Linked DNA regions of Homo sapiens: all the other regions are linked to region 3. The links are contacts of gene promoters, found by promoter capture Hi-C in blood cells and fetal thymus (Javierre and others, 2016). All regions are on one chromosome and are shown on one strand. Each heading gives the region's core, a stretch centred on a gene start or on the middle of the fragment in contact. The rest is flanking DNA. Distances are from core to core; before and after follow the strand shown.

What was found. The method cuts DNA at HindIII sites, captures the fragments that hold promoters and counts their contacts. A CHiCAGO score of 5 or more calls a contact.
Region 1: a fragment that was not itself captured here is called in contact with the fragment with the promoter of LHX2 in region 3 in 4 of 17 cell types (M0 macrophages, M1 macrophages, M2 macrophages and 1 more); the score reaches 8.3 in M0 macrophages.
Region 2: a fragment that was not itself captured here is called in contact with the fragment with the promoter of LHX2 in region 3 in 5 of 17 cell types (monocytes, M1 macrophages, megakaryocytes and 2 more); the score reaches 7.6 in monocytes.
Region 4: a contact is called between a fragment that was not itself captured here and the fragment with the promoter of LHX2 in region 3, in 1 of 17 cell types (monocytes). The highest score is 5.7, in monocytes.
Region 5: a contact is called between a fragment that was not itself captured here and the fragment with the promoter of LHX2 in region 3, in 2 of 17 cell types (M0 macrophages and M1 macrophages). The highest score is 7.4, in M0 macrophages.

Annotation. Positions count from the first base shown.
Region 1 is chr9:123,734,085-123,736,784 of GRCh38, reverse strand. All of the region lies in intron 5 of DENND1A (DENN domain containing 1A), which reads left to right. Among named protein-coding and RNA genes, the nearest start is that of DENND1A, 190 kb to the left of the region's middle. The HindIII fragment of the contact is 621 bases long and covers 1,074-1,694 here.
Region 2 is chr9:123,700,004-123,702,703 of GRCh38, reverse strand. The region is part of intron 5 of DENND1A (DENN domain containing 1A); the gene reads left to right. Among named protein-coding and RNA genes, the nearest start is that of MIR7150, 220 kb to the right of the region's middle. The HindIII fragment of the contact is 884 bases long and covers 851-1,734 here.
Region 3 is chr9:124,010,360-124,013,059 of GRCh38, reverse strand. It overlaps LHX2 (LIM homeobox 2), which reads right to left and starts at 1,292. Exons shown (of 5, transcript NM_004789.4): 1 at 592-1,292. The coding sequence starts at 711. RefSeq lists an enhancer at 1-380 and a silencer at 1,319-1,368. The HindIII fragment of the contact is 7,434 bases long and covers 1-2,700 here.
Region 4 is chr9:123,650,154-123,652,853 of GRCh38, reverse strand. It overlaps DENND1A (DENN domain containing 1A), which reads left to right. Exons shown (of 24, transcript NM_001352964.2): 9 at 731-841. Among named protein-coding and RNA genes, the nearest start is that of MIR7150, 170 kb to the right of the region's middle. The HindIII fragment of the contact is 4,820 bases long and covers 1-2,700 here.
Region 5 is chr9:123,716,418-123,719,117 of GRCh38, reverse strand. All of the region lies in intron 5 of DENND1A (DENN domain containing 1A), which reads left to right. Among named protein-coding and RNA genes, the nearest start is that of DENND1A, 210 kb to the left of the region's middle. The HindIII fragment of the contact is 1,224 bases long and covers 663-1,886 here.

The DNA.
Region 1 (2,700 bases), core at 135-2,634, 280 kb after region 3:
AGACTGAGATATTCTGTGATTCAAAAAAATTCAAATCAAAATAATGTTATTAAATTCCAATGAGCTCATTAGGGCTTTATTGCCATAATTCATTTTTTTGACAATTGTTTTCTTATTCCCATGAATGTGTTTGAGATGCATGATCAGAGGGATTACAGAAGTTTTAGTGCAGTCTTGCTAATGCATGGCAGTATTTCTAAAAAAAATGTAATTGTATCTTATTATCAGCATTGTCATCACTTTTAGATAGGACATTAAATATGAGGCCTCATTTATTCCTTAAAATATAGGAACAGTGACTCTATGCTGTTCTCTTACCTTCCCTAACAGCTCTCCTGAGGAAGCTAAGACACAGGGCAAGGGACTTTTTCCTTGTGACATCATAGCATGACCTGGCCTGGAATTCTGATGTAGTAAGGAAAGAACCACTAAGTTGGCAGAGAGACCCTCAATCTAGACTCCGCCCGGAGCCTGTTGGACTCTGACTTTGGGTATGATTCTGGGCTTCTCTCCTTCCAGAAAATGGAAATGATAACATTAGCCCTTCTGAGCTTACAACATAGCTCTTACAGGTCATGTGTTCTCATACACTGACTTGAAGACCTTCTTTTGTTTATTTGTACCTTTAGCCTTGATAAAGACAAAACTGCTATTGGTGTGTATAGTTACTATAAGGATTTTTAGTTCTCATTAGAACTACTTATCCAGCTATGAGTACATTGGTAGAGAAGGTGCAGTCTAACTAGCTAGCTTCAGTGATTTTTCTTTTTTCTTTTTTTGGAGACAGGGCCTTACTCTGTCACCCAGGATGGAGTGCAGTGGCAGTGGCACAATCTCGGCTCACTGCAACCTCTGCCTCCCAGGTTCAAGCAATTCTCCCACCACAGCCTCCCGAGTAGCTGGGACTACAGGTGTACACCATCATGCCCGGCTAATTTTTGTATTTTTGGAAGAGACAGGGTTTCACCATGTTGGCCAGGCTGGTCTTGAACTCCTGACTTCAAGTGATCCACCCATCTTGGCCTCCCAAAGTGCTGGGATTATAGGTGTGAGCCACCACGCCCAGCCAAGCTTCAGTATTTTTTTCTAAAAGGTGACTGTTGTTTTGGGAATTCAGAATTCTTGATTAACAATAAAAACTTTTAAAAAAGGAAACATCTCACCACTTACTGTTTTGTTACTCATGAGAGGACAATTTCTAGAATATCAGGCAAATACTGAGTGTGGTATGTGTCACGGACGACCTGAGGAAATCATGATGCTGGCTTTTTTGACTAGGACTTCAGAGATCATGGGAGCATCGGGAAGTCTCTGCAAGTGAGTGCAGAGAGTGTGAGCTGTGGAGTCAGAGGGGTTTGCATTTGCTTACCAGCTCTTGCCCACTTATGATCTTCTTACCTAACATCTTGCAACTTATTTTTGTCATCTTTGACATTCAGAGATAAGGACTCACCTCAAAGGGTTGCGAGAGAGAGAGAGTGTACAAATTATTCAGCAGAGTGTCTGATATATAGTGGGGACTCCATGAACTCGTTCCTTCCTGGATGAGCTGGTTTAGAACATCTAGAAATGGTCATAGTGGAAATAGGGGTATTTTAATTTTTATCACCTGGTTAATATTGGGAAGTTCACTGAGCCTTTAGATAGATGTGCCCTTTGATATCTTCCTTGATTTTCTTGGGGGGAGAAAAGCTTAGAATATAAACTCAGAAGGTTCAAATCCCATCTCCTCTTTTCCCAGCAACATCTCCATGAGCATCTCCAACTTTTCTGGCTTCTCCTTCTCCATCTACGTAATGAGAGCAATCATAAGTCCTTGGAGGATTGTAGCGAGGATCAAATCATAACGTATGATGCTGCCTGGTAGTAGTAACTGGTTCCTACACAAGTTTTACCTAGTGACAACTTGAAAGCTAACACGGCTTTTTTTAAAAAATAAAAAAAATTATTTTCCCAAGCCCTCTCTTGGGATGTGCTCATGTGAGAGGATGAGGCAGAAACTTGCTGTAATACACACCCATCATATGTCTAGAACCAAGTGCCCTGAACATTCACGTGCATTCTCTCCTCCACTCTTCACAGCAGTCCCGCAGAGGAAGAATTATCCTCGTCTTACAGAAGAGGAAAAGGAACCTTAGAGAATCATTATTAGCTGATATTGTCAGTATTTGAACCTAGCTCTGTTTGACTCTGAAGTCCATGTTCCTCCCATTCTTTTGTCTTGCCCCCATCCCAAACTTGGTGCCTTATTTGACTTAGGCTAAGGAAACGTGTATTGTTATTTGGTGTCTGTAGGTGTCCTATACTCCACTGCAGACACTGAGGATGCAGTGATCCCCGAGACATGCACTTTCCCCACTTTCACATGGCCCAGGATCTGAAGGCAGACATATAATTAAACAATTAGTTGCAATATTGAACTCTGATAAAGAAAGTTAAATTATTATGTAAATGAGTAGTCATCTGTGTATTTTAAACAGGCAATTTCCTCTGAATAGGTGACTTCTGTTGGTTTCAGGGTATCACATAATCTTAAAGTAGTTCTCCTTTTGGGGTGAATGTAACATCCTGTATTTCCATAACTTATCTTGCTAAAATATGAATAAAAACTTAATAATGACTCTGCCTCTACATAAAAAAATAAAAATGTTACCTGGGCTTGGTGGCAGACATCTGTAGTCTCAGCTACTTGGGAGACTG
Region 2 (2,700 bases), core at 43-2,542, 310 kb after region 3:
GGTACAGTATTCTTGGTTGACAGTATTTTTCCTTCAGCACTATAAATATATCATCGCAGTCTTTCCTGGCTTATAATGTTTATTCTCAGAAGTTTGCTGCTGGGTGTCTTGGAACTCTCTTATATATTATTTGCTTCTTTTGTCTTGCTGCTTTCAGGATTTTCTCTTTGTCTTTGATCTTTGACAGTTTGATTAGATTCTATCTTGGGGTAGTCTTATTTGAATTGAATCTGATTGGAGGCTTTTGACCTTTCTGTACCTGGATATTTGTATCTTTCTGTAGGTTTGGTATATTTTTTGCTATTATTTATTTAAATAAGCTTTCCTACCTCTTTATCTTTCTCTACCCCTTCTTGAATACCAGCAACTCATACATTTGCTCTTTTGATGCCATTCCGTAAATCTCATAAGCTTTCTTCGTTCCTTTTTTTTCCTTTTTTATCCTCTGATTGTATATTTTCAAATAACCTGTCTTTGACTTCACAGATTTTTTTCCTTCTGCTTAATCAGGTCTGCTATTGATTTTCTCTATTGCGTTTTTATTTATTTATTTATTTTTGTATTTTTCAACTCCTGAAAAATGTTTTTAAAAATTATTTTAGGCTCTGTTAAATTTCTAATTCTGGTCACTTATTATGTTTCTCATTTCATTGAATTGTTTATTGAGCACCTTTAAAATAGCTATTTTGGATTCTCTATCAGGCAGTACATACATCTTTGTCTCTTTATGGTCAGTCACTAGTACCTCATTTTGTCTGTTTAGTGACAACGTGTTTCCCTGATCCTTGTAGTCATGCATTGACCTTCTGTACATTGAAGAAGTAGGTACTTATTCCAGTCTTTGTAAGCTTTTGTGGCTTTGTTTTGGAACCTCCTTCAAAAGTAAGCCTGTTCAGAGTTTCTAGGCAGGTTGTCTGGTCTGGTCCCTAATCCTCAGATTGCTGTAGCTGTGGTAGCTTAGCATGCTAAGCCCATGGCTACCAAGGCTGGTACAGCACTGGGATATACCTGAAGCTCTTGGCTGCTGAGAGCCTGCCTGTTGCTGTGGGTTATTCATAGCCTAAGGCCACTGTAGTCAGCTGGCAGTGATGCAGGCCAGAACTCAAATCTGTGTTATAGGGGCTGCAGGTCTCTGGTGCTGGGGTGGGTCTAGAAGCTCAGTTCACAGGTGTCGGCCTGGAGTTAGAGGCCCTAGAGGTCTGCCTGATGCTGGGTTTTATGGTGGCAGGCTCAGTATTGGGGACCTAGACAAAGTCTTAGACTTATTTCTCTTTCCCCCAGGCAGATGATATCTCTTTCCACTGCCTGAGGTAAGGGGAGGGATGACATGGGTAATGCAAAATTGTCCTTTCTACCCTCTTTGATGTGTCTTTCTTATTATTGTGCTATAACCAGGCACTATGATCTGTTACATGGTTTCTTTAGCTCTTGTGAGGGTATTTTGAACTGTTTAAATTGATGTTTCTGTGTGGGGATAATCCCTGGAGAGTTCATTTCTGCCATTTTGCTCTACCTTCTATCAATTTTTACTTCTGAGTTCATGCTTTTTGTGTTCTGTGAAATCTCTGCATAACTTAAGAGCACAGAGATTTTCCCCTATATTGTCTTATAGACATTTTGTAGGTTTATCTCTTATACTTAGGTCTTCAGTCCATTTCTATAAATTTTTGTATGTAGTGTGAGGTAAGGAAATTGGTATTAAAATTGTAAGTTCAAATTAATAAAACAGAAGCTTTTATAATAGCATCAAAATATGAAATACCAAGGGATACATTGAACAAAATATTTGCCTGACCTGTGCACTGAAAATACAAAACATTGCTGAGATACATTTTTTTAAAAAGATCTAAATAGATATACCAGGCTGATGGATTCAAGGATTCCATGTTGTCAAGATGTTATGATGGTTAATCTTGTGTGTCAGCTTGTCTAGGCTATGGTACCTAATTATTTGGTCAAACACTAGTATAGATGGTACTGTGAAGGTATTTTAAATCTAACTAACATTTATAATCATTGACTTTTAGTAAAGGAGATCACCCTCCATAATGTTGGTGGTCCTCATCCAATCAGTTTAAAGCCTTCAGAGCAGAAACTGAGGTTTTCCAGAGAAGAAGGAATTCTGCTTCAAGACTGTAATTTAAAAATCCTTCCTGAGTTCCCAGCTTGCTGGCCTGCCCTACAAATTTTGGACTCAGGACTGCAACATCAGTTGTTACCTGAGTTTCCAGCCCACTGGCCTGTCCTATAGATTTCAAACTTGCCTCAACCAGTTACTTAACATAAATCTCTTTATACACACACACACGCATGCATACAATAGTCTATTCTGTTTCTCTGGAGGACTGTTACTGATACAGATGTCAGTTCTCCCCAAATTGATCTATAGAGTCAATGCAATAATACCACCAGGCCTTTTTTTCCTTCAGAATTGGGCAAGCTGATTCTAAAATCTGTATGAAGATTTTTGTGGCAAAGAACTTAGGCAAAATAACTTTTTAAAAGAAGAATAAAGTTGGAGGACACATATTACCTGATCTCCAGTTTTATTGTAGAGCTACAGTAATTGAGACATTGTGGTATTGGCACAAGGGTAGACCATACGGATTAGTAGAACAGAATAGAGAATCAACTGATATCTAGATATATTTTTTAGAAAGGTGCCAAGGTAATTCAAAGGGTAGTCTGTTAAAAAATGAA
Region 3 (2,700 bases), core at 43-2,542:
TCGGCGAGGGCCAGGCCGGAGCCTGAACTCCCAGCCCTGGCCTGGCTAAGTCTGACCAGTCAAGGGTCTGGGGACGCGATCAACGACAAATGTTGGCCCCGAAGACTTCGGCCTCTGAAACTGCGCTGGGGGTTGAGGAGGATCCCCGATTGCCGGAAAGCTGGGAGCGGCCCAAGCCGGCTGGAGCCCCAATGCTCCCAGCTGGTTCGCCCTTCCCTGGCGCCGCTCGCGGCGCCGCCAGCAACCGGAGCCGAGAGGTGGAGGAGAGCGCGGGGCTGTCGACCCCGGCACCGGGCAAGGTGAGAAGGGAGCCGCCCCGGGCCGCGGATGGGACTTCGCTTCCAGTTCGGAAGAAACGCTCTCCTCTACCCCCAGGGCCGAGATTTCGGTTTCAACCTTGTTTCCCTTCTGCGTCCCAGCAGCCGGGTTTCCCCCGAACCGGGAGCCACCGGCCTTGCATTCTGACCGAGGATCCCCAGCACCCAGTCCCGTGCGGCACGAAGGACGCTCCCCAAACTTCGGGGAGCAGAGGCGCTGACTGGCCCGGCCCCATCCCAGCTCTCAGCCCCGACCCCACAGCCGCGCGCCTACCGTCTCGGTGTCGCCGCGGTCGATGGCGGAGCTGATGGCGGGAGCCTCGCTCTTGGCCCTGCGGTCCATCTCGTCGATGACCCCGTGCACCTCGGGGCCCGACAGACTGTGGAACAGCATCGCGGCGGGACCGGCGGGGCCGGGGGCGCGGCTCCTCCGAGGGAGGGCTTGCCCCCCGCCTCAGCTGCCTGGCGCTCCTGGCGCTAACGGGCCCGGTGCATCGCCACCGCGGCCCCGGCCCCGCCCGAGCTCGGCTGAGCCCCCAGGCCGGGCTCCGGGCCCCGGGCGCTCGCGGGGCAGGACGCCTCCCGCCGAGGCGCAGGGGCAGCTACATTGCGGGGCGCCTGGGCGACGGCGCCAAAGCCAGGGTCACAAGGGCACGGGACAAGCGGGGCGGGGGGAGCAGGAGACTAGGACAGAGGTCGGCGCCCGCCGCGGGCGCTTTCACGCCGCGGGCATCGCCCGCCCGGCTTCAGCGCCCGGGGCGCAAAGCAAGGGCGCAAACTCTGCCCGAGGCGGCGACGGCTGCGGTCGGGGTTCACCCTGAAGCCGCTAGGTGTCCGCGGCGGCCCAGCTGCCTGGACCCCTCCCCTCCCTGGGGTGCGCCCCCAGCCCAAGGCGACCCTCTTGGGCGCTGAGTCGGCGACTGGAGTAGGGGTTTCTCCGAAGCCTGCGAGCCGAGTCGAGCCACCGGGAGAATTGAAGAGGAGGAGGAAGAGGAGGAGGAGGAGGCGGAGGAGGAGGTGGAGGAGGAGAAAAAAGAGGAGGAGCAGAGTGGGAGGAGGAGCCGCCGGCCGCGGGCCCAGCCGCGCGCAATGCTCTCCAAGCGCGCGCCTAGCCCAGCCCCGGCTCTGCAGTCCGCGCCAGCGCAAGCCTCCGCGCCTTTTCTACAGCCGCGCCTGACATCACGTCCTGCCGCCGTGCCATTGGCCGCTCGGCGCCCCAGGCCCTGGCAGCGCGTGCTCCGGGAAGGCGGGAGACCCAAGAGGGAGGGGAGAGGCAAGAGGAGCAGAGGAGAGTCGAGATGGTGGGAGCTGGTGGGCGAGGCTGGAGGGCGGGGGTGGGGGGGAGGCAGGGAGGAGGGAGAGCGCGGGGTTTGGAGTTTTTAAGATACGAACAGCTTCCTGCGATATCTTCAGAAAGGAAAATTAAACCCTCTATCCTAAGAAGGCGCAGCAAGGGGATGCTCGTCTCACTGCGGTCTCCCCTCGGCCTGGAGCCGCGGCCTCAGGCACCCGCCTGGGAGGCCCGGGAAGGCAGGCCTGTGGCAGAGTTGCAAGAGCCTTCGGCCGGCCGTTTCCCATCGAGCTCCGCCTTCGGCCCGGGCTCTGCACAGCGGGCTGCAGGCGGCCGTGCAAGCCTCCTGGGTACCCGGCAGAGCCTGAGTGGCGAGACCGGCGAGAGCTGTGACTCCCGGGGAGGGGGGCCAGCCAGCATATCCACGCTCCAAGCCCGCTAGGGCCCAATCTGCAGCCCAGCGTGTAGCTTCTCGCTCTTCCCGGTCTCTCCCCAGCCTGGAAGAGTGGGGGCGAGCATGGCTTTAGGAACTCAGAAAGGCCAGGGTTCGAATCCTAGCTCTGCCATTTACATGCACTGTAACCTTAGGCAGTGACTTATCCTCCCTTAGCCTGTTTCTGACCTTTATAATGGGCGACAAGAAGCTCTCCTCCGCATGGACGTGTTGATTGAAAGAGACTGTGGATGTAAAATGCCTGGAACATAGTAGGCACTTAGCAAATTATTTCATTACTCTCTCTTGCTCCTTTTCCATTAAAAACTTTCTCACTCCAAGACACATTCGATATCAGTGAGGTTCTTAAAAACCACAGGCCTATTCTCTGCCCACTGGGCACACCATGTCTCAGACCCCGCTGATGGCGCGAGTCCTCCTTACCCGCCTGGCTGCACCACCTCCCCAGGGGCCAACAAAGTAGCGTGCTGGGTAAATCCCAACTGCTACCCCCAGCCTCCAGGTTTCAGGCTCACCCTAGAGTCTCCTGGGGACTGGAGGGAAATACCCAGGTGTCTGGTGGGGGAGGGATTTAGGAAATAAAATGATTGTAGACAAAAACTGAATAAGCACTTCGGTTACAGAGTCCCATCTGGGTC
Region 4 (2,700 bases), core at 159-2,658, 360 kb after region 3:
GCCCAGGCTACAGGGGTGGAAAAAAGCTAGTTAAAACACTGCTTTGTCACAACTTGCTGCTGTTTGTCTTCAATTTTTTTTCCCCTTTTGAGTGAAATACCTGGAAATTGTAAATGTTCGAAATTGCCTTAATTCCAGCTGAGCCGTTTTAGCAAATGTAAACTGTGAAGGAGGGGATACCAGCAGTGATGACGGGAGAGGAGCTCGCCTGGCCTTCGTGGGTGGCATCTCCTGCACAGAAACAGGCTCAGTGCCAGAAGCATTTTGGTCCCTGGGTACTTTCTTTTGCTTAGGCGTATGGCACAGCACATCGGGAAGGTTCTAGGATCTGGGGCCCAAAGATTTGAGCAGCAGTCCTGTCTTCATTGCTTATTAGACTGTTCCATCTTGGAGAATCTCTTTGAGTCTTGGTTTCCTCATTTGTAAGATATGTAGAATTCCTGTTCTGCTCACCTTTAGGAACTGACCTAAGTGCTGGATGCGACCTCATGTTGTAATCACCACACAAAGATGTAATTGCTCAGGCTCCTTCCTCTGTAAGGTGTCTTCCAACTTTACCCTTCATGATTTTACACATGTGGGGATTTGGCCTCCCAGGTAGAAAGAAAAGGACAGGGAAAGAACAGAGTATACTTTCTGATTATTTTATGTTTCTTATGCTCTTATTAGATACAGTTATAATAAGAACAAAGAAAATCAGCCACAAACCGTGCCTTCTTCTTTCTCCTAGAGAAATCTGACAGAATATTTTGTGGCTGTGGATGTTAACAACATGTTGCATCTGTACGCCAGTATGCTGTACGAACGCCGGATACTCATCATTTGCAGCAAACTCAGCACTGTGAGTAGACAGTCTTAAGACTGGCTTTTTAATGATCTAATTTTAATTGAAAGATACACCAGCAAGATGAAAGAAAATTTTAGAAAAAGGAGTCAGCTACAGTCCCCTTATATGGCAGCATGTCATTTTCATTAATTGTTCATTTTTTTTTTTTTACAGTGCCAATGCACATTTCATTTATTCCTGTAGTCGCACAGTCAATTATAAATAGCTTTCCATTTGATTGTGTGTTATGAACATTTTGCAGGTTTCTACATGAGCTTCAATTGTCATTTTTTAATGTCTACACCATATTTCATGATACGGGTGTGTCATTATTTACTAAATCCTTCTCTTGATGGCCATTTAGGTTGTTCATTATGATTTAATCCTTTTAGTAGATAATACTGCAATGAACATCTTTTGGCTTCTTTTGACTGTTACAGTTATATTCTAAGGAGTGGGACACTAGGTCAAAGGGCTTGATAAGCGCTATGACTTAGGGACTGCCAAATTGCTTTGCAAACAGGCGGTGCTTGTTTACAGTGAAGGCTGCCAGCTGTAGATGAGTGCACCATTTTCACCGCAGCTTTGCCAGGAAAGAGAGAGAGTGTGTGTGTGCGCGCATGTGCGCACGTGTGTACGTGCATGTGCTCAGGTGTTTTAATTCTGCTAAGAAAGTAGATGTGCTATGGTATTTCAGGCTTGCTTTAATTTTAGAATTACCTCTTTGGTTAGAGGTAACTGAATATTTTCCATGGGTTTATTTTTTTATTTGTATTTTGTTAATATCCTTTCACATTTATTTTATAGGTGTCTTGATTTTTTTATTAATTATAATGAACTTTCTATATAACTTTTGCTGTGTGTATAATATAAATATTTTTATATTCCTTTTATTTTAGTTTTTCACTTGCTAAGTATGAGTTCACATTTTCCCCAATATTTTTTATGAAAATTCTTAAGCCATTATAGAAAGCTGAAATAATTTTACAGTGAATGCTGATATACTTCCATCTAAATTCTACTAGTGACATTGTATCAGTTGCTTTATCATGTATTTATTCAACTATTTATCATCCATAGCATCCATTAATCCATCTTTTTTTTTTTTTTTTTTTTTTTTTGAGACAGAGTCTTACTCTGTCACCCAGGCTGGAGTTCAGTGGCACTATCTCGGCTCACTGCAACCTCCACCTCCCAGGTACAAGTAATTCTCTTGCTTCAGTCACCCAAGTAGTTGGGGTTACAGGCACATACCACCTCACCCAGCTAATTTTTGTATTTTTAGTAGAGATGGGGTTTTGCCATGTTGACCAGGCTGGTCTCGAACTCTTGACCTCAAGTGATCCACCCACCTCAGCCTCCCAAAGTGCTGGGATTACAGGTGATCCATCTTATTTTTTATGCATTTCAAAGTAAATCACAGGCGTCACTTTACTTTCCCCTAAATAATTCAATATCTGTTTGCTGAGTTTGTTGTTGTTTTTGTTTGTAGACAAAACTTATATACAGAAATTGACTGGGAGTAGAATGCCTAATAGGCATCCCTCTGTTAGAGAGAGTAGAAAAATATTTTTATAAGTGGAGAGTTCCCTAATGAAGGGCCTATGGATAAAATCAAGTTATGTGTTTACTTATGAATAAAAGGCACCTAATAATGAAAACTCTCTGAGACTACTAGAGTTTTCCTTACAGTTTTTATTATACCTTCATTATTTTATTATTTCTTTGGTTATTGATTGCTCATCAAGAACTCAGTTTTTTTTAATTGCCTAGTATGTGTTAAGAATAGCCTATAGTAGACCTCTTGCTTTGTTTTACATTTTATTTTACACCATACGTGCAGTTCATAATTTCAGGGCACAAACACCCAGACT
Region 5 (2,700 bases), core at 25-2,524, 290 kb after region 3:
TCCTCATGCCTGGGGAGGCCTCACAATCATGGTGGAAGGTCAAAGGCACTTCTTACATGGCGGCAGGCAAGAGAGAGAATGAGAACCAAGCAAAAGGGGTTTCCCCTTATAAAACTGTCAGATCTCGTGAGACTTATTCACTACCACGAGAACAGTATGGGGGAAACTGCCCCTGTGATTCAGTTATCTCCCACCGGGTCCATCCCACAACATGTGGGAATTATGGGAGCTACATTTCAAAATGAGATTTGGGTGAGGACACAGCCAAACCATATTACCACTTGTACAGAGCTTAGCAAGTTGTGGACACTCTGGGTGTAGTCCTTTGTTACTGTTGTCTGGGCTTGCCTTTGAAAAGAACATTGTCCCAACAGAGTCTGTAGTTCCAATGGCAGTTCAGTTTGAGTCCCAAATTTTGATGAGTCTTAATGTTCCTGCAGCCAAGAGAGTCCAGAAGAGAATCGTTCCAGTGTTCTTCTGGACCTGGATCTCATATGAGTAACAAAATGCAAGCATACAATCCTCACTGTGAATCTACAGGAGGCTGTTGTTTCAACTGACTTAAGAAATTTCACTGAGTATGGAAAGGATGTCAGAACTTTAGCCAGAGCTGCAACTATAATCACATTATTTTGCTGCTGCTCAGTGGAGCTAAGAAAGCTTAAGAGTATTACCATCTGGGCAAAGCTAGGCAATGGTGAACTGTGAACTGCTTACCAACTTAACAGAAACTCTTGCTACCTCATTCATTAATTAGGCCTTTATGGCACACCTTCTTTTGGTTGCTTGGCAACCATAATAGCAGTCATTAAATTCTGTCATTTTGTATTAACCCTTTGGCCCTGGGTGGATTGGGAGCCCCCACCTTAACACTAATGCATTTTACATTAGTACGTCTACCTGGGAAATCCCATTCCCTTGACACTTCAGCTATAAAGAGCAAATAGCCAGAGTCCAAAATAGAAAAAGTTCTTTTTTTCTTCACATTAGTGTATGTGCTTTTAAGGCTTTACAAAATGTATCTGTCAGGATGGAGGCCATTTCCCAATTTGCTGACAGACAGACATAACATACACCCAGCAAGATGAAAAGACAGCTAGTTTCCCAGAAAACAGGAGCTGACTGTGACTTCTGTGGGCTTATGGAGGAAGGAGGTGGTGTGAAAACCAGATGGGAGAGTTGTTAAGAGTTGTATGTTTCCAAAATTGCCTTTGTAGCTCCTTTGCAAAAATTTGGACCATGCATGCTGGAGGGATAGGGGGCTATTCCAACTACACACTGTTTAGCATTTCAGCAACTGATTAGAGTGGTAGGGAACAAACTGTGTACTCTGGCAAAGTCTGTGAGGAAATGCAGTGGACACAGGGCAACCTCTGGGAGACTGTCAAGGGCTCCTATGATGCTCTGCCCACTAGGTTACATAAATGTGAACAAGATATAAAAGCCTTACATTAAAATAGGGCTTAGGAATTTAAACTGGAGGTATATCCTCTTTTCTATAATGAGCTAAAATGATTTGAGACTTGTGTAGTATAATTAGAATAATTCCATTTCTCAGAAATATTAATTTTTCTCTTAGTGGAAGAAAACAGGAAGTACGTTAGGTTTTGGCATCAGACAAACCTAGGTTGGAATCCTTACTCTACCCAGTAACTGTGTAATCTTGTACAGTTGCCTTTCTTTTTTATCTCTCTTTCCTTATCTGTAAAGTGGGGATAATCATTCCCCTTCAGAGTATTGTTATAAGGATTAAATGAGTCACATACATTATACGTATCTCCTAGTTAAGGCATGGCCCATGGTATAGACCCCATTCATTCTTTCAACAAACAGGACTGCAGTGGTGATCAAGAACCTCTCCACTCTCATGATTTTACAGTCAAGCTTAGTGTCAGATCCTCTTTGTCCCTCAGTTTACTAATGACGCCCAGAGAGGCTGTCACTTGCCAACTATCTGACCAGATCTGATAGTAGTATCTGGGTTGCCTGGCCACCGGGTCTCTCAAATAAATTTTATATGTAATACTGCTAAGTTTCCTAGGCGCGGTGTGACTATGTATTTACTATTTCTCAGTATATTTTGGGTGGTAACTTTAGAAGGCAAAAGGAAAAGTAAAAAGTAACCACAATTAACTAGTCCAAGTTATTAGTATCAAACTTAAAAACTAGATTAGTCATTTGCACTTAACGGTTCATGTGGTTATAGTAAGGTGGGCCCTGCTAAAAATGTTGGCATTGTTTATTGAGGAGTTTAAATAAAAATTTACTCCCCTTGCCTCTGCCCCGTCAAGCATGTACGTGATACTCACAGCATCTGGGATTTAAAGTGGCTACTGTTTGTTAAAAAAGCAGTAACTTCCCTGAAGGAGTTTTGTGAGTTAGGAGAAGTCACAAAGGCAATTAATTTTGTTCTTCAGAGCAGTACCTCCACTGCATTCGTTTGTACTTTTTGCAAGCTTAAATTATAACCCAGGAGCCAGCCGTACCATGATCCGATTTGATATTTAGTTTTATTTTATTAGTAGTTGTCTTTAATGGATGTCTTGTCATGTAGGTTTCCTGATTATTAGTAATTTAAATTGACTCTGAGAATGAAAGGAAACCACAGGCATGAAACTGATGGACTGTGACTACAGCGGTCTTCCAGCTTTCAAGGCAGCTGTGATGGCTCTGCAGGCTCCCTTGGTTCCCCCCTCCTTC